Linked DNA regions of Homo sapiens: all the other regions are linked to region 5. The links are contacts of gene promoters, found by promoter capture Hi-C in blood cells and fetal thymus (Javierre and others, 2016). All regions are on one chromosome and are shown on one strand. Each heading gives the region's core, a stretch centred on a gene start or on the middle of the fragment in contact. The rest is flanking DNA. Distances are from core to core; before and after follow the strand shown. Region 1 has its middle 160 kb from the start of MIR5011. Region 2 has its middle 210 kb from the start of DSEL-AS1. Region 3 has its middle 200 kb from the start of MIR5011. Region 4 has its middle 180 kb from the start of MIR5011. Region 5 holds the start of TMX3 (thioredoxin related transmembrane protein 3). Region 6 overlaps RTTN (rotatin). Region 7 overlaps RTTN (rotatin).

The links. The method cuts DNA at HindIII sites, captures the fragments that hold promoters and counts their contacts. A CHiCAGO score of 5 or more calls a contact.
Region 1: a fragment that was not itself captured here is called in contact with the fragment with the promoter of TMX3 in region 5 in 7 of 17 cell types (total CD4 T cells, naive CD8 T cells, total CD8 T cells and 4 more); the score reaches 12.6 in total CD4 T cells.
Region 2: a contact is called between a fragment that was not itself captured here and the fragment with the promoter of TMX3 in region 5, in 4 of 17 cell types (naive CD4 T cells, endothelial precursors, total CD4 T cells and 1 more). The highest score is 6.0, in naive CD4 T cells.
Region 3: a contact is called between a fragment that was not itself captured here and the fragment with the promoter of TMX3 in region 5, in 1 of 17 cell types (total CD4 T cells). The highest score is 5.8, in total CD4 T cells.
Region 4: a contact is called between a fragment that was not itself captured here and the fragment with the promoter of TMX3 in region 5, in 3 of 17 cell types (naive CD8 T cells, total CD8 T cells and naive CD4 T cells). The highest score is 15.3, in naive CD8 T cells.
Region 6: a contact is called between a fragment that was not itself captured here and the fragment with the promoter of TMX3 in region 5, in 12 of 17 cell types (total CD4 T cells, activated CD4 T cells, non-activated CD4 T cells and 9 more). The highest score is 24.0, in total CD4 T cells.
Region 7: a fragment that was not itself captured here is called in contact with the fragment with the promoter of TMX3 in region 5 in 8 of 17 cell types (total CD4 T cells, non-activated CD4 T cells, M1 macrophages and 5 more); the score reaches 11.9 in total CD4 T cells.

Annotation. Positions count from the first base shown.
Region 1 is chr18:67,241,314-67,244,116 of GRCh38, forward strand. No RefSeq gene overlaps it. Among named protein-coding and RNA genes, the nearest start is that of MIR5011, 160 kb to the left of the region's middle. The HindIII fragment of the contact is 3,640 bases long and covers 1-2,803 here.
Region 2 is chr18:67,301,056-67,303,847 of GRCh38, forward strand. No RefSeq gene overlaps it. Among named protein-coding and RNA genes, the nearest start is that of DSEL-AS1, 210 kb to the right of the region's middle. The HindIII fragment of the contact is 1,195 bases long and covers 723-1,917 here.
Region 3 is chr18:67,278,259-67,281,115 of GRCh38, forward strand. No RefSeq gene overlaps it. Among named protein-coding and RNA genes, the nearest start is that of MIR5011, 200 kb to the left of the region's middle. The HindIII fragment of the contact is 1,209 bases long and covers 729-1,937 here.
Region 4 is chr18:67,261,091-67,264,032 of GRCh38, forward strand. No RefSeq gene overlaps it. Among named protein-coding and RNA genes, the nearest start is that of MIR5011, 180 kb to the left of the region's middle. The HindIII fragment of the contact is 1,149 bases long and covers 885-2,033 here.
Region 5 is chr18:68,713,771-68,716,496 of GRCh38, forward strand. TMX3 (thioredoxin related transmembrane protein 3) reads right to left here and starts at 1,338. Exons shown (of 16, transcript NM_019022.5): 1 at 1,166-1,338; 2 at 76-130. The coding sequence starts at 1,211. It also overlaps a transcript of CCDC102B not described here. RefSeq lists silencers at 986-1,085, 1,266-1,395 and an enhancer at 1,596-1,665. The HindIII fragment of the contact is 941 bases long and covers 878-1,818 here.
Region 6 is chr18:70,185,473-70,188,364 of GRCh38, forward strand. RTTN (rotatin) reads right to left here. Exons shown (of 49, transcript NM_173630.4): 10 at 2,636-2,751. Among named protein-coding and RNA genes, the nearest start is that of RTTN, 19 kb to the right of the region's middle. The HindIII fragment of the contact is 3,709 bases long and covers 1-2,892 here.
Region 7 is chr18:70,165,038-70,167,737 of GRCh38, forward strand. It overlaps RTTN (rotatin), which reads right to left. Exons shown (of 49, transcript NM_173630.4): 13 at 1,882-1,994; 14 at 1,025-1,151. Among named protein-coding and RNA genes, the nearest start is that of RTTN, 39 kb to the right of the region's middle. RefSeq lists an enhancer at 1,171-1,300. The HindIII fragment of the contact is 1,847 bases long and covers 382-2,228 here.

The DNA.
Region 1 (2,803 bases), core at 103-2,602, 1.5 Mb before region 5:
CACTGCAAAATACAATCTACACTTCCTCCTCTCTATATTTTAGTATAGAATGATCAGAATCTTAACAGAAAAACACCACTCTGGGGCTCAGTCACATCTTTGCAAGTGAGGCAGTCGTCTTAGGTGGTCTTCCTTATTCATTTTAGTGCTGCTCACATATCAGCTAGGTTTTTCTCAGAATCATTTTATCTCTGGTTGCTGTTACCCACAATCAAACAGTTATTTGAAAGCAAAGGAAGTCAATGTGATGAAATATCTTGCTGGGTACACCAATGATTTGAAGTGAGAAAAAACAAATCTGGGTAATACACTCACAGTTTCTCCTATTACAGAAGACAACAGGAAATTAGGAAACATTCTGTTCTTCTTTCCAGTGTCTTACAAGGAGACAAATTAGCAAATATTTGTGAAGAATTTAAAAAATATATTTTATAAATATGGTTATATTTATGTACATGGACATTTTTAACATGATCCATTCAAGTGTTTTGTGGCTCTAGAAATTAGCCAATTAGAGAAAATGGGAAGTGTAGGGGCATATACTTAGGAACTTGCAGGAGACAACACTTTCTGACTTAGAAGGGCTGTGTCATGAATTGGCTGGCTCTGGATCATCATCCAGGTACAGTTTTAAAAAGATACAACAACCTTCATTTAGGTCAGTCAACTGAACATGAGGTTTACTTGCCATCAAGTACCCTACATAGAGGCTGAACAAAATGATGAAAAAATCCAGGTCAAGTAGTATTGAAATGCCAGATGAATAGCTTATTGCGTATTGCATATTCAGTAGAGAAGTATGGGATAGTAGGTCAGCAGTGAGAATCTTGTTGGTAGGCCTACGATGAAGAGTGAGTCGATCCTAGAAAGGATATCAGAGACCAAACCTACATACCAGCCTCACACCTGCTACATAGGGATTGGATGATTCAGGATAGGGATGCTAGAGGCTACTGGTCACTAATCAGTCATCAGATTCTCTTCTTTTCACACTGAGTACTTGTTAATCCAATAAAAATGAATTAAGTTATTGCTAAATGCCTTATCTGACCAATATCAAGGGGAATATGGTAACTAATTATAGCCTCCAGTGGCCCCACCTGTTTAAACTACAAAAGATTGGGACAGTAGCAGGGAAAATGACTTCTTAAAGCAACTTAGTATTGCGTCCTGTTCAATAAAAGAAGCATTTTCACAAGGCCCCAGAGCCAATTTCATTGATGATTAAATGATCAATGGTAAATTCAGCATTCGTTGATCAGGCCCTATTTCACTAGGCCTATCAGCAGAATTTATCATTACTGATGTCTCCCTCTTCATTGGCATACTTTCTTCTCTTGGTGTGTAGAGTTCTAAAATCTCTCCTGACTCTGGTACCTCTTGTTTGTTTGTTTTTAATCTCATTTGCTGATGTATCACTTTCTACACGACCTCTTTATTGCCAGCCTGTGCCAGAATTCAATCCTTGGTCCTTTTCTCATTGGTGTCTTTATCCAGCTATTTGATGTTCTCCTTCAGCCTCATGGCTTCACACTGACATGTGAATGATTCATACCTGTAAATATCCACTCTACCTTTTAAACTCCAGACTTGCATAGCCAACTGCACATGTATCCTCACTCCTTAAAATGGTAATGGACATTAAAAACTCAAAGTGTTCAAAACTCAATGGAACCTTTCCCAGCACATTTTTCCATTTCCTCAGACTAAAATCATTAGAGTTATTATTGACTTACACTTTTATTTCCTGATCTACACACATGTTACTTCCATAAAATTCTGTTGGCTATAACTATATAAAGAATCTGATCTCTTCTATCCACATGAAATACTATAACCTTGGTCCAACCTAATATCAGCTCTCAACACTCAAAATGTTTATAATGTCAGAATATTATTTAGAAATGTATGAATACTATAATTATTTTTTTGTGTATACAATGACAACATCTGGGTTTTTTTCTGACATAATTGGTTCCTCTGAAAGCCCATATATATATATATATATATATATATATATATATATATATATATATATATATGTATTTATATGTATTATTTATACATGTATATACACATACCCACACATATATACCCACTCACATATATACACATATATACATATAAATTGAATATATACTTATATTTATTAAATAATTAATAAATGGGCATTATTAGTCTCATATTAAGTTATAAGATTTAGATGCAAAAGTTTAATTAGTAGAACTGGGGAGAGAATCATCAGAAATTCTCATACAATTCATAACCATAAAATTTGAGATTAACTAAGTATGGACAGCAATTGTAATTTTCAGTCTCAAACCCACTGTTGTAGGCAGAATAATGGCCCCCTAAAGATGCCTGTGTTCTAATCCCTAGAGCCTGCAAATATGCTATGTTACATGGCAAAGAAGAATTATGGTTGCCAATGGAATTAGGATGCAAATCCACTGACCTTAAAACAAGGAAATGTTTCTGGATTATCTGGATGAGTCCAAGTGTAATCTCAAAGGACATTTAAAGTGAAAGAAATAGGTGGGAAAAAAGGTCAGAGACAGAAGTTTGCAGACACTAAACTTCTGACTTTGAAGTTGTAATCAGAGGGCATCAGCCAAAGAATGCAGGTAGCCTCTAAGAGCTAGAAAAGGCAAGAAAAACAGATTCTCTTCTAGAGCCTCAAGGAATAAACATAGTTCGGCTGTCTGCTTTCTTTTTACCCTAGGAGACCTAGTTCAGACTTTTGACTCCAAAATGACAAGATCAGAGATACTTGTTTTTTGAGGCCAGCAATTTTGTGATACTT
Region 2 (2,792 bases), core at 70-2,569, 1.4 Mb before region 5:
TGACCAAGGGTACATATGACAAAGTAGGTACTCAATGAATATTTGTTGAGTGGATTGAAATATTAATGGAGTTAGTAGTTTAAAAGTCCTGTTCAGGAAAACTTCTTTCTTTTTCTACCTTCTACCTGATCCTTTTATGGAGTTTTCAGGCTTAGATGCATGCAGTGGAGATAGGATGGAAGAAGCTGGAATTCTTCTTTTGTTTATATTTTTGCCTCCTCAGATTCTCACTAGTCCAGTACCTCTCATACCTCTTTGTGTATCAGAATTCACAGAACTTTACCCACACTTTCAATTTTAACTTATCAGGCTTAGGTATTTTATAAAGTGCCTCAGGGCCTTGGTTTTAATAGGTATTCAGCAAAAAAAAAAAAAAAAAAAAAAAAAAAAAATCATGTCCATTACCAAGATCCTGAGTCAGGCTGAGGGGCCCTGCATTAGGGAATGTGAACACTTTTGCAAATCCAGAGCAACTGGAATCTAGAGTTCATTCCCTTAGGAGATGAAGAAGTCACAACTGGCTGGATCTATCAGTCCTGGATCCCTCTCTGAGGGAACTTACAATTGTGGATTTCTGACATCCATATTCTAGGTGCTGGCTGTGGACTCCTCTCTCTGCCTCAGGCCATAAGTCATCCTCTTCACACAGACTCTCTCTCCACCAGCACCACCTCTCTCACATCAGCAGGCATCAAAATCACCTGGAGTGCTTGCGAATCACAAGCTTCTGATTCAATCATCTGGGTTAGGGCCCAATAATTTGCATGAATAACAAGGTCCCAGTGGATGCTGCTGCTGCTGGTTCACAGACCACACTTTGAGAACCATTACTCTAAGTAATTTTCTAGCTATGTGTAAGTCTAACATGAATCTACTTCCTGTCACAGGTACATTTTGCCAAAATAAATCTTACAGGTTTTATACTGCAGTTGGTTTACAATACAGCCATTTTTCTCTGTTATCAACTAAAAATTCCAGGAAGTAAGTATTTTGCTTGAAGATACTTTCATCTGATGAAAGGGAAAGGTGCCTTCTTTTCTCCCTGTGGCAGTAGGGCTTTAGGAACAGAGAACACATGGAAAAGTTTTCCCAAACAAATCCTCACTCTACTGTCTACTGTCTTTACTAGGTGATCACTGACGGGGTAAAACTAGCTTTCCAATCTCTAGCTCCTTTGATATCCCAGCCAAAACAGAAAGAGAAAGTATCTCTATGAAGGCTTCTTTACACTTATCATGAGTCATAACTTTGAAAGAAACATAATAAAATAGTTTTGGCCTTTTAAAATGTCTGAATTGAATATAGACTACACCCTTGAAAATATTAAACATATTTCCTATAGTGGTCTACAAATTTTTCTTTCTGAGTTGATATAACTTATCTTTTTGTAGCAGAGTAATATCAAGGATATAAAATATTTTGTTATTACACAACATAGCATCTCTTATTTGTATTAGAAATATTAAAGAAAATTGTAATTGTAGCGACAGTTTATTTTAGACATCTTCCCATATATGCAAATTTTAAAGAGTTTGGTAGGCTCTGAGATAGATCTATCCCTTTGAGGATTTCAAGTTTTTGCATCAGAAATCTAGCGCGGTAACTCTCAAGTCCAGAGCTAAACAACTACTCTAAGATTATGTAAAAAACAAAACCAACAAACAAAAAACCACACTTACATACAAACAGGTACAGAAGACCTAAAAGTCTATTTCTTTCATAGGTGTAGCAAATTAATATGAAATTTCTGTACGCATTAGCTTTTCTTTTTGTTTCTACAAAACTTTTTCATTACTCTAAAATGAGCTACTGGATTTTATTTCCAGCCCATTTTTCTTGTGCTTTTTCAAAATTTCAAATTTCATATATCATTATATTTCAAAATTATACCTTCCTTTTTAGGCATAAAGAAGTAGAAGCTTTCAGACGGGAGCACTCATGTGCTTATTGTTTTTCATGCTTAGATTATTCTTAGTAAATAAAACTATTTTCAATCATCTTTCACTTATCTTTAAATTCAGAGGTTGACATTACAAATTATAAGCTTAAATATTTTTTCTATTCATTGCTTCTGCAATTTCATATTTCATATTCATGATAAAGACACAGTAAGACAGGACTGACCAAGGAAGAAAATAACTCAACAGATTTACTAGGAGAAATTGCATTTTCATAACTTTGAATGTCTAAGATATTAATAAAAATTAATCTGTTATTCAAGAATAATTAATGTCTGACAAAATTGGAGGAAAGTGACGGTCTCTAGGCTTCGAGGGGATTGACTGGAAAGGGACATGAAGGAAGTTTCTGGGATAATAGAAATGTTTTGTATCTTGGTAGAGATGTATGTAGTTTGCCTTATGCTTTTGAAAACTCCCATGGAACTGTATAACATCTCTAGAGTTTACTGTAAGTATTCATACTTCAGCAAAATAAAAAAATATATAAATACAGAAATAATTCTGTAAAAATCTATTACCAACATTTCTGTATCACTTTATATTTTTATATACAGTGAAGTTAAGTAAATCAACTTTTCAACAAACACCTTTTTAAGGAGAAATTGATAATGATTGAAGAAATGTTTATATTAATAAAAGTTTTAAATAATCTCACTCTCTACTAGCATTGTAATTTGAAGAATATTTTAACTAATTTTTTCTAAGGATAATTGCTGACTTTACTTGTCACTAAAACGTATATGCCTGAGAGACTGCTTATTCTTTAAGATATAAAAAGAAGTCTTTATTTAACTTTCTTAGAATCTGTTTCATTTTGACAGTCTCTAGGAA
Region 3 (2,857 bases), core at 83-2,582, 1.4 Mb before region 5:
CTGGGCAGCAGCAGCCTGCATGTCAACATTGCTGAACAGATGTAGAGAATTTGTGAGTAGAGATGCTATGGAAGAGCTGGTAGTTTGATTGTTTTATTTAAAATTTTTCAAAGAATTATGAGTGTCACAAGGCTGTGAGATATTTCTGACAAAGTATAAAATATTTCACTATGCTTGAGAATGATGTAATGTGCACTAATCAAATGCTGAATATATATAAAAAAGATGGAACAGAAAAGATAGTATATTCAAGTTCAAGCTGAGTGTAGCTGCTCAACGTCCTTATCTTGTTATTATTTCCATTTTAATTGAATTGCTTGATTATGCTTCATATTGAATTGCATAGCAGAAATGAGGCGATTTTTGCGTGAATGTGGGGAAGCAAATATACTCACTAATGTTACCTGATCATGAGACATATATAATAATTTGACCCTTTTTATCATTTTGGTCACATGTTTTTATTTCTTTTTATTTCCCAAGAATCAGAGCCTTGAACAGAAGTATTCACATATGTAACATGTTTTCTACCTTTATATAGTAGAAATACTGTATGCTTCAGCAGCATACAGAAAACCGTTACCTACAGAACACCTGTCTAAGTAATAAAGGAAAGTCGGATTAAAAAAAATGTGTATTAAGAAAATTGCATAGCCTGAGTCTTAAAACCACCTAATAAACACCGGCTATACTGAAACGTTTGAGGCATGGTTGTTATTCTCAATGAAAGCTTTTTAGAATTTATAAAGATCTGTGCAACCTCAAGTTACTCATGAGGCAAAGAAGCATCATAACACCAACATTACATGGTTGATTGAGAATAAAATGAAGTACTATATGTATGTGGTGTACATTCATTTCTTTCTTCTAATACTTAAATACATATTGCAATAAAATTCATTTTTTTTAAATTAATGTATCTGACTAACATTCGCTTTGCCCCACCTATGGGTCTATTATGGTATCTATTGAAACGGATATATTTTTTAAAATCCTTGTGTTCATTAAAATGTTTGGGGTATTTTTCTTGTTTGTTTTCATTCATTCTATATTTCAAATATGTTGCAAGGTAGGCATTCACAACACAATGGAAAAAGAGAAAGATTTGGCAAAGAAAGTACCAGCTCAGAAATATTAACTACCTCAACTCCACGGAGGTAGAAATGGTGAAAAAAAAGAAAAAGAAAAAAAAAGAACAGCCTACAAGGAACAACCACCACCTCACTAGAGATCTGTCATTTAATGAATGAAATCAAAACACAACAGAACACTACCTCCTCTGGTTAGGAGCTAAATCAAGGGGGCTGGACATTTGTCATGTTCCAGTCTTGGAAACTCTCTTTGACTCAGTTTCCTCATCTGTGAAATATGGATACTTTTAACTACTTCAAAGAACTGTTTTGTGGAGCTGATATTTGTTGATATCATATACTGGCCTAAGAAACAGACCCAGTAATGTGTGGGTTGTGACTGCCCTGGACTCTTCTTGACAGCAGAAGACACTGTTTTCTTGTTAATAAGCTGCAATTGCCTGCGGGACTAAAATCATGCCTAGCCCACAATAGGAATTCTATAAGCATTTGTTACATGAATGAAGAGATAAAGAGGAGTGACTGGTAATCTTTTCTCCCTAGGAAGACGTTAAAACACCCAAGCAGAGTGAAGGAGATTTAAAGAAAAAATAGAACTTTCAATATATTCTTGTGGTTATCTCTAGATTCCACAGCCTTAGGAGAAAGAAAACAACAACAAAAAAGGCCATCACTTTTTCCATTTATCATTTGTCGGGTTCTCCAACTCAGGTTATCATGGTGAGAAGAGAAGCAGAGATGCATTCTGTTTATTAACAAAGACGTACTACTCACTGGCTCTTCTCTCCATTGCAAACAAAGTGTGACAAATGGAATGCACAGTAAAAATTTAAATATTTAGTATCAAGCTTGAAATCTAAATGAATAATTTATTCAAGAAGAACTAGACATCAAATTTATATAAGCAATGTGTTATTGCGTGGACTAGAGATATATACAAATATAAACAGATATGTGCATATATTTTATATGTGTGCATAGAGAGATAAAGAGAGATAGAGAAAGAGAGGAAGAAAGGAAGAGAGAGAAAGTAGAAGGATAAGAAGAAGGGGAAGAGGAGGAGAAAAAGGAAAGAAAGAAGAAAGACACAGTCCCATGTCTTCAAGAAATGCATTGACCATCAGGGAAAACAGACATGAATAGGCAAGCACAATAAAATATGATTAAAAGCAGAGTTTGCCTAGGGCCTGAGGAAAGGGGAAATTAACACTGCCGTGAGCATTTTATTTGTTAACCCACTTTTAAAGTTTATTTCCTGGTGAGTGATATTAAAAACACCATGCATCCTGGGTACAATTAAATCCAATTTAAAATGTATTAAGTGATACTTTCTGAAAAGTCCTTACAAATAGCTCGGCTCTAGGGGATGTAATGATCTTTAAGAAACAGCATTTACTCTGGAATTCTTGGCGTATCATTAGCACAGACATCTTACACACCTATAAGTATAGCACTAGGTATTAAAGAATGTTACCAGCAGTAACCTTTTTTAGAAATTTAGAGTGGGGATATAATAATGTAATCTGGAGGAATTCCAGGAGCTGCATGTTGATCTGGGTGGTAAAGTGTGACATATGAACAGTACTTCTGTGGCCAATATGTTAACGGACATGCAAGGGCTCACCAGATAATCTGAGCTGCCCTCACCAGCGCCAGGGATGATGCCTAATACTGATATCCAGGGGGCATCATTGAGATGTGATTTTTGTGTAATGGTGAATGTTTTTCAAGCTGTTCCCAATTTGAAAACTGCTTCCTGGCCAAAA
Region 4 (2,942 bases), core at 209-2,708, 1.5 Mb before region 5:
ACGATGCTGATTCAGGATGCTGACCAAATTTGTGTCTCTGTGGTTGTAGAACTGAGGTCCTCATAGACCTGAGGTCTCCACTTTTATGCTGGTTGTCAGGGGATCAGCCTTTGCTCCTCGAAACTGCCCACATTTCTTCTTATGCTTTCCATGTGGCTCCCTCTAGAAACAGTAGGTGACATAAAATTCATGCTTCAAACCTCTTGGTTTCTTCCCTTTCTACTGTATCTCTCTAACTCCAGCTGGAAAAACGGTTTTGTTTTGTTTTGTTTGCTTTTAAGAGCTCATGTGGTTAGATTGGGCCCACTGAGATAATGTAAGGTAATCTCTATTTTAAGGCCCCTAACATTAAATCTAAATGCAAAGTCCCTCTTTTCCCCAGGTACTGTGATGTCCTCACAAGTTCTGACTATTAAGATGTGACACTTTGGAGAGGTCAGTATTCTGACCAGCACATAAATACCTGATGAGCAACTCTTGATTACAGAGACTACAGTGAAAGTACTATTTTCAAGTGATGAAGGGGTATAAATAGATTTTTAACCATCACGGTAGTTTTTCATAATTTGTGGAATAAGGGTTTGCATGGGAAGAGGAGAAAATGATTTGGGGGTTGGCGAACAGAAATTCAGAATCACATGGGTAGAAGAAACCTGGATAGACTATGTGGGTGGAGCTAGATAACTTTCTACACTCCATTGAATTAAATGTTTCACAATATTTCTCAAAATGTAAAAAGCATTACCAATATCACAAAGTAATTAATAAGATTTAAGGGCTCAGGGAAAAAAAAGATAAAAGGAACTTGATATGCTGAAGATAGAGCAAGGCTAGCATTAGGAAAAGAGAGAAGTTATTTTGTAGTTCCGGGGTTGTCTTATTCAAGCTTGTGTTCCAGCTTAAAAAGCACTTGATTCAGCAGGTTAAACCATTTTTTGGTGCCGCTAATCTGATTTGCTCCTGTGATTTCATTGTTTTTTACAAGTTGCAGCATGCTTCACTTTGCATTTTCACTTTCATAAGATGACTGCTCTGTAACTTTCATTCTCTTTGCCTTCATTACTTGGTATACTTGCTTGAATAGGAAAGATTTCTCCCTTATGTGTAGGCATATACTATTGAATTATTTGACTCATGTTAGAGTGCTGTTCTTATTTATGATAAGTCCCTCAACATAATGTCCTATCTAGAAGCTGTGAATATGTCACCTAAGGGTGATGGAGATCTCCAAATAGTCACTTTCCAGAGCTGTAACTGGCACTTGTTTTAAATTGGTATGATTATGTCTAAGCCATGCAATTTGAAAGAATGGTACGGACACATAGACACTTTCCATTGCTTTTATGCTTTTTTTTCTATCATAGATCCACACATCATTTTTTATGTCTTGAGTGAATATGACAGCTGTGTGATTTCTTTTTCTTTGTGAAGCCAATTAATCTGTCTACACTTCTGGGCTTTTAATTTTTTTTTTTTTTTTTTTTTTTTTGCATATGCCTTTTCTTTCTTTTCTTTTTCTTTTCCTGATCAAGTTGTTTACATTCTCAGAATGTTTGTCTTAGATCTTCATACTTGTCTGATTTTCTAATTACTTAGCCTTTTATCCCAGCTTCCTGTTTAGGGTTTACTAATAATCAGCTCTCTAGACTCAGTCTGTGATTTAGCCTGTTCTCGTCACACATGCACTGAAATTATTTGAGGCACATTCAACAGCACACTTAAAAGAAGCAGACAAAATAATCCCGAAAAAGTCTCAACATTGATTTTGTACTCTGTAAAGGTTTACAAGAGCTTAATGTGAATGTTTGGAAACCTAAGGACATCAGACGACTAATTGTTTCAAGCGATACTTATAAGGAACAGATAAAAACAGACACAAAGAAGGGGATCAGAAGTCATTTGTAAGGATATATGAAATCGACTGATGTGCCATACTGATGTAGATTTCATAGCAACTTGTCTGCAAGACCTCATACTTCATCTCCATGATGAAATTCAGTTACAAAAACTGTTAAAGTGAGACAACTTATATAAGCTTACGGGTAGTGGGCTCAGTAAAGGTAAATGTTGGTGCACTTACCTTTGCCTTACTAATTGGAAAAATCAATTAAATAAAACAACACGTATTCATTTAGTAAAAATTTATTGAGTGTATTTGCTACAAAATACATTTAGGTCAATTTTCAAGGTTGCAGGTAGTATGATTGAAGTTTAACCATGAGAAAAATATACAGTTTACATAGATCAGAATATCAAGGTACTTTTTAAAGATATCATTTTAAGAATAAGAAGTTATTGTATATACAAGGAATATTCCTTGCATGGAATATACGAGGAATATTCCATGCATGGAATATACGAGGAATATTCCTTGCATGGAATATACGAGGAATATTCCTTGCATGGAATATACGAGGAATATTCCTTGCATGGAATATACGAGGAATATTCCTTGCATGGAATATACGAGGAATATTCCATGCATGGAATATACGAGGAATATTCCATGCATGGAATATACGAGGTATATTCCTTGTATGGTATATACGAGGAATAAATATATTTTATAGGAAGTAAAGTATGGAAGGAAAACTATGCTTTACTTCCTATAAAATTTTTGTGAACTATACTATCAAAAAAGTTGTCTAACATGCAGCACCTAAAATAAAACAAAATCATAGTAAAATAGATTACTCAATTAATTTCAGTTGTATCTTATTATTCTTAGATATATCTCATATTTAATATAGAATTTCATAATGACAATGTCTTTAAGATGATATTAATTTTAAAAAATTGATAGATAATTTGACCCAGCAATCCCACTTCTGAATATCTACTCACAGGAAAATAAATCATTATATAATAAAGACACATATGACCTATACTCATATGCTTGTAGTGGCACTATTCACAATAGTGAAGTCATGGATTCATGTCCA
Region 5 (2,726 bases), core at 88-2,587:
GAATCACATGCAAATATTCAGATATCTGAGTTGGACAGTTAAAATAATATTTTAAATATATATATGTATACTCACGATTCATCTAAATCTTCTACAAATCCTTTACAGACGACCATATCAAGTACAACAACTGAAAAAAAAAGACAAAATGTACACAATAAATGCTGATTATTTGGCTCATACCGTATAAGCTTAGTCATCTCTGAAGTGTTTTTGACCTTTCACAACCTACCAAAAAATTCATCACTGATGCATCCCAGGGTGCAAATGATGCAAAAGCAAAGGTAGTTCATCCATTTAATAAATATTTAGTCTGTATGCAACCATATCGTGACCGGCCAAGTTCTAGGTAAGCCAATAAATCTAATACACACAGTTCCTTTTTCCTCCATATTTTCACTCTCATCTTACGTCTCTTTTTAACCATCCTATCTTTTTGGAATACAAATAGACAGCATTCTTCTTTATTTCTTTTGCTTTAGTAGCAATTACCTCTTCCGTAAAAACTCCAAATGCCATTCAAAATATTTCCCCTCAAATAGATACGTAGGAAGAAAGTCGAGCTGCAACTCTAATACTTATTACACGGCAGTGCCTGACACAGAGTGGGCTCTAAAAGGTTGTTAAGTGAGCGGACCCCAGTGAGAATGAGGGCACTCCATGCTGACGGGAGGCAGCTGAGAACCGCTGACACACACTCAGGTCCTTTTCACACCGCACAATCCCGGCGGCCTGACCCTGATCTGTCCTCGACCACCCTCTCTTGAGTACTGGTGGTAAAAATCCTTAAACGTGACAAGACTCGGAACCTAAAGCCAAGGCAAGATTTGGTCGTTAAGCTGGGACGGCGGCATCCTTCTTGCCCATCAAAGGAGTAAGCTTTATTGAAACTTCTGCCACAATGAGAAAAACACAAACACAAGGCAGCGCGCCCTTCCCACGTCCAGCATTGGTCCGGCACAGCGGCGGCGGAAGGACCCCAAGGTGTCCGCTCCGTCAGGGCCAGGCAGGGTGGCGCGGCGGGGGCGGCAGGACGCTGCCGGGAATGGGTGGGCATCTCCACGAACCCCGCAGGCCTCGCCCCAGACCCGGGTCCAATCCCGGCCCCACGGCGGGGCCAGGTCCCACGCGCCCGCCAGCGTCCCGACCGCTGAGCCCCCATTACCTGTGGCGCAGAGCCGCAGGGCCGTCCAACTCTTCCACGCTGCCATGCTAGCCCGGGAGAGCTGCAGAAGCTGACTGTGCAAAAGAGGGATAAAGACACTGGGGTCCGCCGCCTGCCCGCCCGGAAAGGGAAACGGAGCCGACCCGGAGCGGAAGAGAAGCACCGCGCTAACTACGGGGGCGGGGCTACCCGGCCAGTCTCCGTCTCCGGCTATGCGCGGGAGTGCGGCGCATGCGAGGGGAGTGCGGCGCATGCGACAGCGCCTGCGCAGTCATGTCTTAAGAATCCTTTGCGCTCTCGGTGCCCCCCTCCACGCCCAGGAGCGTGGGAACCCTGCTTAAGGGCTTTACTAGGGAAAACGGTGCTGGTTCACTGGGGCGCGTTTCCGGGAAGGTGAATACCGGTGAAAGTTATGCTGAGGGTGAGGTAGGCTCTGACGACGCACTTGCAGGTTGAATACTGGCACATCATTTACTTGTTACTCCCGTGTGGTGAGTGCACCTGTGGGTTTTGATGCTGGATCAAATTCCTGGAAAGAGGCGCGCATTAAGACTGCGGATTGCTGAGCTGCGCGACACTCCGTATTTTTCCAAAACGTATTTGTAATATTCTTTCAACCTGTTTGCATAATGGGACATCTCTTAAATGCAGCAAGCTTTAATGCATTTTTGCCAAAGTAAGGATTGCCTCTTTAAAAACTTTCTCTTGAAACTTGAGAACATGAAGTTAAGCGTAGGATATTTTTTGATGGCTCTTTTCTGATTATTTTGGAACTAGATAAAGTAGTATGAAATATTTATATTGCTACCTGTTTTTTCTTCTATACGACAATGATTTGTAAAAACCATATACTTTTATAAGACGGTTACTGCAGCAATCACTACTTACGAACTAGATGAAATTTTTATGGGACATAAGGTACCAGAGAATTTAGATCAAACCAAATTTTGAAAACCTGTGACAACAACAGAAGGGGGATATGATGTCAGCCGGTTCACCTTAGGTTCAAAATTCCAACAGGCAAAAATGTCATAAAACGTCGTTATTCCTAGTGACTAGAAGATTAAATTGCACTCTAATTGAGAGCAAGCCCTAAATGTCACCCCCTTTGTGCATGCAGCATGGTATCCAGCGCAAGCCCTCTACAGATTCAATTTTTCTTTTTCTTTCTCTTTTCCTTTTTTTCTTTTTTTTTTAAGAAAAAAGTAGACTAAAACGTAAGGGGACTGTTGAAATGATGGGAATGTTCTCCCGGTGGTGGTGGAACAGCTTTATAATAGTACCATCGCCTCGATACTCTTATACAGAAGCTTTTCTACTTTCTTGGCAAGGTCTCTGAATGACCCATATTCAATTTTTTTTTTTCATTCTCATGTATTTCAAAGTTTTCTGTCTTCCACAGCATGCAAAGTGAAATAATTTCCTCTTATATTTGCGTTACAGTTTAAGTTCACATGTGGACAACAACAAAAGCCAGTTGACCTAGATCTGTGCTTTTCAGTAGTGTAGCCACTAACCACATGTGGCTATTGAGCTTTTGAAATGTGCCTAGTGTGATGAA
Region 6 (2,892 bases), core at 90-2,589, 1.5 Mb after region 5:
GAACTTCCTCAACTTTATAAAGGCATCTACAAAATACAAATGTACTAGAGCTAATCTTGTATTTAATGGTGAAAGATCGAATGCTTCCCTCTAAATCATGAAGAAGGCTCTCACCACATCCATCCAACATTATACTAAGGCTTCTAGCCAGGGCAATTAGGCAATTTAAAAAAATTAAAGGTATCCAGAGTGAATAGAAAGAAATAAAACTGTCTTTATTCACAGATAAGATGATCTTAAAACTGTTTTTATTCACAGATAACAAGATTTTATAGATAGAAAATCCTAAGGGATCTACCAGAAAACAAAACAAAACAAAAAAAACTACCAGAACTAGTAAGTTCAGCAAGGCCACCAAATAGACGATCAATACACAAAAATCAATTGTATTTCTATATACTAACAATGAGCAATCCAAAAACTTTTAAAATTTTCATTCACAATGGCATTGAAAAGAATACTTAAGAATAAGTGTTTTTTTAAAAAAAAACCTAGACTTGCTCTCTAAAAATTACAAAAGATGCTCATAATCATCAGTCACTAGGGAAATGCAAATTAAAACCCACTAAGATACCATTGCACATCTATCAGAATGCCCTCTCCCCCCCAAAAAAAAAAAAAAAACTGAACATAATAGATGTTGAAGATGTGGAACAACTGGAATGTCCATAGGAATGTTATTTGTAATAACTAGAAACAACCCCATTGTCCACCAACAGGTGAATGGATAAACAAATTGTGGTATGTCCACACAATGTAATACTACTCAGAAATAAAATGAATAAACTACAGTAAGCCTTCACTTAACTTGGTCAACAGGTTCTTGGAAACTGACTTTAATGAAACAGCATTACAAGTTCCATGCCATTTCACTAAATGCTGATGAGAAAAAATAACTGGGTTTGTTATAAGTCAGTTTGCTTAAAGTCACAGTTTCCGAAAACCTATCTATGATGCCAAGTGAGGAACTGCTGTACTACTACATAAACAACATGGCTCAGCCGGGCGCGGTGGCTCGCACCTGTAATTCTAGCACTTTCGGAGACCAAGGCAGGCAGATCACTTGAGGCCATTCTACCATAAAGACACATACATGTGTATGTTCACTGCTGCACTATTCACAATAGCAAAGACATGGAATCAACCTAAATGCCTATCAATGGGAGACTGATTAAGGAAAATGTGGTACATACACACCAATGAATACTATGCAGCCATAAAAATGCATGAGATCATATCCTTTGCGGCAACATGGATGGAGCTGGAGGCCATTATCCTATGCAAACTAATCCAGAAACAGAAAACCAAATACACATATTCTCACTTATAAGTGGGAGCTAAACAATGAGAACACATGGACCCAAAGAGGGGAATAACAGACACCAGGGATTACTCGACGGCAGAGAGTGGGAGGAGGACCACAAAAATTACCTATCGGGTACTAGGCTTATTACCTGGGTGACAAAATAATCTGTACACCAAACCCCCATGACACAGTTTACCTACATAACAAACCTGCACACGTACCGCTGAAGCTAAATAAAAGTTTTTTAGAAAAACAGCATGCCCACTTAAATAAATCTACCCTAGAGACATACCTGCACATTTATGAAATAGCATAAGCCCATTATTCTTTGTACATAATTTATATTAACAATAATATCCATCAAGAGACTAGGTTAACAAATACACAACGAAGCATTTGCTACCTATAAAAAAGAACGAGAAAATCTCACGTATAGATAGATAGGGAATAATCCTCATACCTACTATTCTATGCACATAAGACGTATTTTTAAGTTATAAAAACAGGGTGCAAAACAGTGTCTATAATATACCACCTTTTATGCAGGATGGGGAGAGGATAAGAATCTACATACTTAGTTGCTTACATTTGCAAAAATAAAATAAAAATAGAAAAAAATAGCCAGAAAATAAAAATGACTACCAATAAGGAAAACATCTTAAAGGTAACTGGATGGGAGAGAGGCATCTCTGAGCTACATTTTTATGAAGAAAAAACAATTCCCAATAGTGAAAACAAACAAAAAAAAATCTAACTGTATGCTGAATGGGTAACGGTAGCTTTAAGGCACAGTATTTTGACTGTATATCCTTAGTGAGATTAGTCTATCTCAAAAAGAACTGCCAGGAAATCTTGAACTTTTCATTAGAATTGTTCATAGCAATGTTAATATTGCTGTTCTGAAACTATCTTATGTATGTTTAAGGTCAAAGCTAATAAGCAATTATGCTGATATTGCTAGGAACGAAGACTTTCTACAAGCGCAAGGATAAGAAATACAAATTTAAAATAAGAAAAATAGCAATAAACTCACGATCTTTAAAAATACGTATTTCCTAATTGTTCCTGAAAGAAAAGAATGATATCACAGTAGCTATAACCACCTCTAATGGCCTGGTTTTGGTCTTAATATACGTTCCACTATTAGAAGTAACCAGAACCTTTGGAAAAATAGGCCTGTTCCAGGCTATTTATAACATAAGCCTGGGACATATTGAGTCAAAAAGAAAAAAGATTTTGAACACGAATGAGACAATGAAACCGGCTTAAAAGAACCAAAATCTTAAAAAATACTATTCCCTATATCCCAAAGAAAACATTGATTCTTACCATATCTATACCAAAAAGGCTGCTGTCATCCCAGATATCTGTTGAAATTGCTTCACCAATAAGTGTCATATCCTCTGTAAGCAATTCCAGAACTCTTATTATCACTTGTCTGCTACCTAGGAATACAAACAGAAAAAAGTAAAGGAGAAGAAGTTACTTAACTTTAAAATAATCAGCTGAATATCATATTGCTCAATTTTCTAGTTAGTCATGCTCCAACATTTTCTCTTTTTTTCTAATGTTCTTAGAACTGTAGA
Region 7 (2,700 bases), core at 55-2,554, 1.5 Mb after region 5:
ATTTTATATGCAGCCAAATTACTATTCAAAATAAAGTGAAATCATGACATTTTCAAACGTATGCACACAGTCACAGACTGTCACTGAAAATACTGAAAAACTTACTTCAATAAAAAGGAGACTGAACCTAAATATTTATCATTCAATAAAAGGAAGTATATTCAAACTTAATAGCAGTTAAGGTGAATGAACTAGGCAAATCTCAAATCCTGCTATATATACTAATCATGCTATATATAAAATTCTTTAAATTATTTAAAGATAATATTTATATATAAAGATACAGCTTTATAAATAATATACAACAACTGGATGGGAAGAATATACACCAGCTGTGTAAGAGTGGCTAGGCTATGCTGGTGGGAGAAGAGAAAGCAAAGAAGCTTCCTCTATAACTAGTATTTTTCTTTGAATAAAAATGAATCAGAAGTAAAAATGGCAAAATGTAAACACTTATTATAACCAAATAGTACTTACAAGAGTGTTAAATACAAAAGGACACTTTCAAGAGTACGCAGTAATATATATACTTTTAAATATTGTCCTATGTACAGTGTTCTTTTCAATATTGAAATATTTAATATTCTATGCTGAAATATTTTATCATTTAAGAAGACAGAAAAATAAATATTTCAAAAGAAAAGAAAAATAAAAAATAACATTAAAAAAAACAGAATTAAAACCATAAAATCTAGGCCACAACAACCTAAAAGGTTTCCTGGGCATAGAAATCACTTTTGAATACCTGGAAATCAATTTTCCTTATAATTTTTCCATCATTAATACAACATAAATGTAATTCTTAATAAAACTTCAAATAAAGCAATTCAATTGCTGGACTTACTAAGTTAAGAGAATTTAATAGTACAAATTTTCCAGAATTGACTAGTAATTATCATCTACTTTTATGGGATATAGTTCTTATATCTCATACAAAAGGTCAAGTAAATTAAGTTTGAAGGTATAACAAGAGAGTCTACTATTTGTTCTCAAAAACAAAACATACGAAAAAACAAAACCTCACCTTCGTGATTTCCAGACAGCAGTGGTAAGTTTCAGCTTTCACTCGTGGCAATGGGTGAGACAACATATGGAGAAGCACCTTCTGACTTTCTCCTTGTAGTAATGGACTGGCCTGAGCAGATTTCCAGCTGGTGAAAAGGTAAAACAACCAAGACATGTGAGGCAAGTAAGTTAGTAAGCAAAAGACTGCAAAGCATACTGGAAGGGATTTCTTCCTACTCCAACTCCTCAAACTGAGATCTTATTAAAAATAACCAATACTAGCAAGTACTCACCTAAGCACTTATTTGTTTCAGGGCAGAGGAGGTTCTGTCTTAAAGAGTATTTTTAAAAACCCAAAATGTCTTTAAAATCCCCTACTCAGTTAATGATTATCACATCACAGAATTTATTCTTTCCAAAAGCAATAAAGACACTAAGTTCTAAATAGAAATTTGCTGATGTCCTCAAAATAAATTAACCAATACACAGTCTTTTCTAAAAATCCACATAAGAAAAAGGTACAAAGTAATAAAAGTTACAAAACTCTCAGTTTAAGTTATTAATTAAAACTTTAAAGATAAATAAACAATGTGTGTGAATAGTCTGGATGGATACCAAAAACAAATGTATAAAAATCCAAGGATTATTCATTTTGATTGTAGGCATGACATTTTTGAAGTTTAATCTTGAATATAACAGTTAAGTATCCTAATGCAGCTGTACATATACCCTTTAAAAATCAGACACATATAAAAGCAATTAAACTAAAAAATAATAACAAAGATATACAGTCAGTTTCACTTTCACTGTTTCTAAGTTTACACACACCCTAAGTGTCCAATAATAACGTAATCACATTAAGAAAGAAAATATTACATCTTTGAACAAATGCTGATGATTTCCTTTATTAGCGGGAAATGCTGATGATAGGAAAAGCTACGCAAGGCTTGGTCTGCCAGCTCCACTAATTCTAAGAGATTCTTCTCTCCCTACAAAAGAAGCAGAATGGAACAATAAATGTCAAGTTCATGTGCAATGATATTCTCAACAGCTAACTAAGCAGCTTCAAGAAATTAGACCATTCAGAGACCATGAGACTGTTTACATTTGTTTAAGTCCACTTTCTCATCAAGCAACCTAAAAATGTCAGCCGAGGTGGAGAAATGTAGGAAAATTCCCTAGCTAAATGCCACATGAGACTTTCTATTATTTAACTCTGAGTAAGCTTAAAGTTACAATCAAGTTGCCTGGTTCTTTGATTACTTCTTTGTAGCTCTACCTCCCCTAATAAAAGTAGGGCTAATGTATTTATTTTATTATAAACCTGCCTCTTGTAGCAGCCTGACCACTAGGAACACACAGGACATTGAACACATGTGTGATTAACTGACCACACAAAATGCCACAGAGGCCAGACCCAGTGGCTCCCAGCACTTCGGGAGGCCGAGGCGGGCAGATCACTTGAGGTCAGGAGTTCAAGACTAACCTGGCCAACATGGCGAAACCCCGTCTCTACTAAAAATACAAAAAATTAGCTGGTTGTGGTGGCACGAGCCTGTAATCCCAGCTACTTGAGAGGCTGAGGCGGGAGGTGGAGCTTGCAGTGCGCCAAGACTGCACCACTGCACTCCAGCCTGGGAGACAGAGTGAGATTTCGTCTCAAAAAAAAAAAAAAGCCACAGAAATACTTCAACT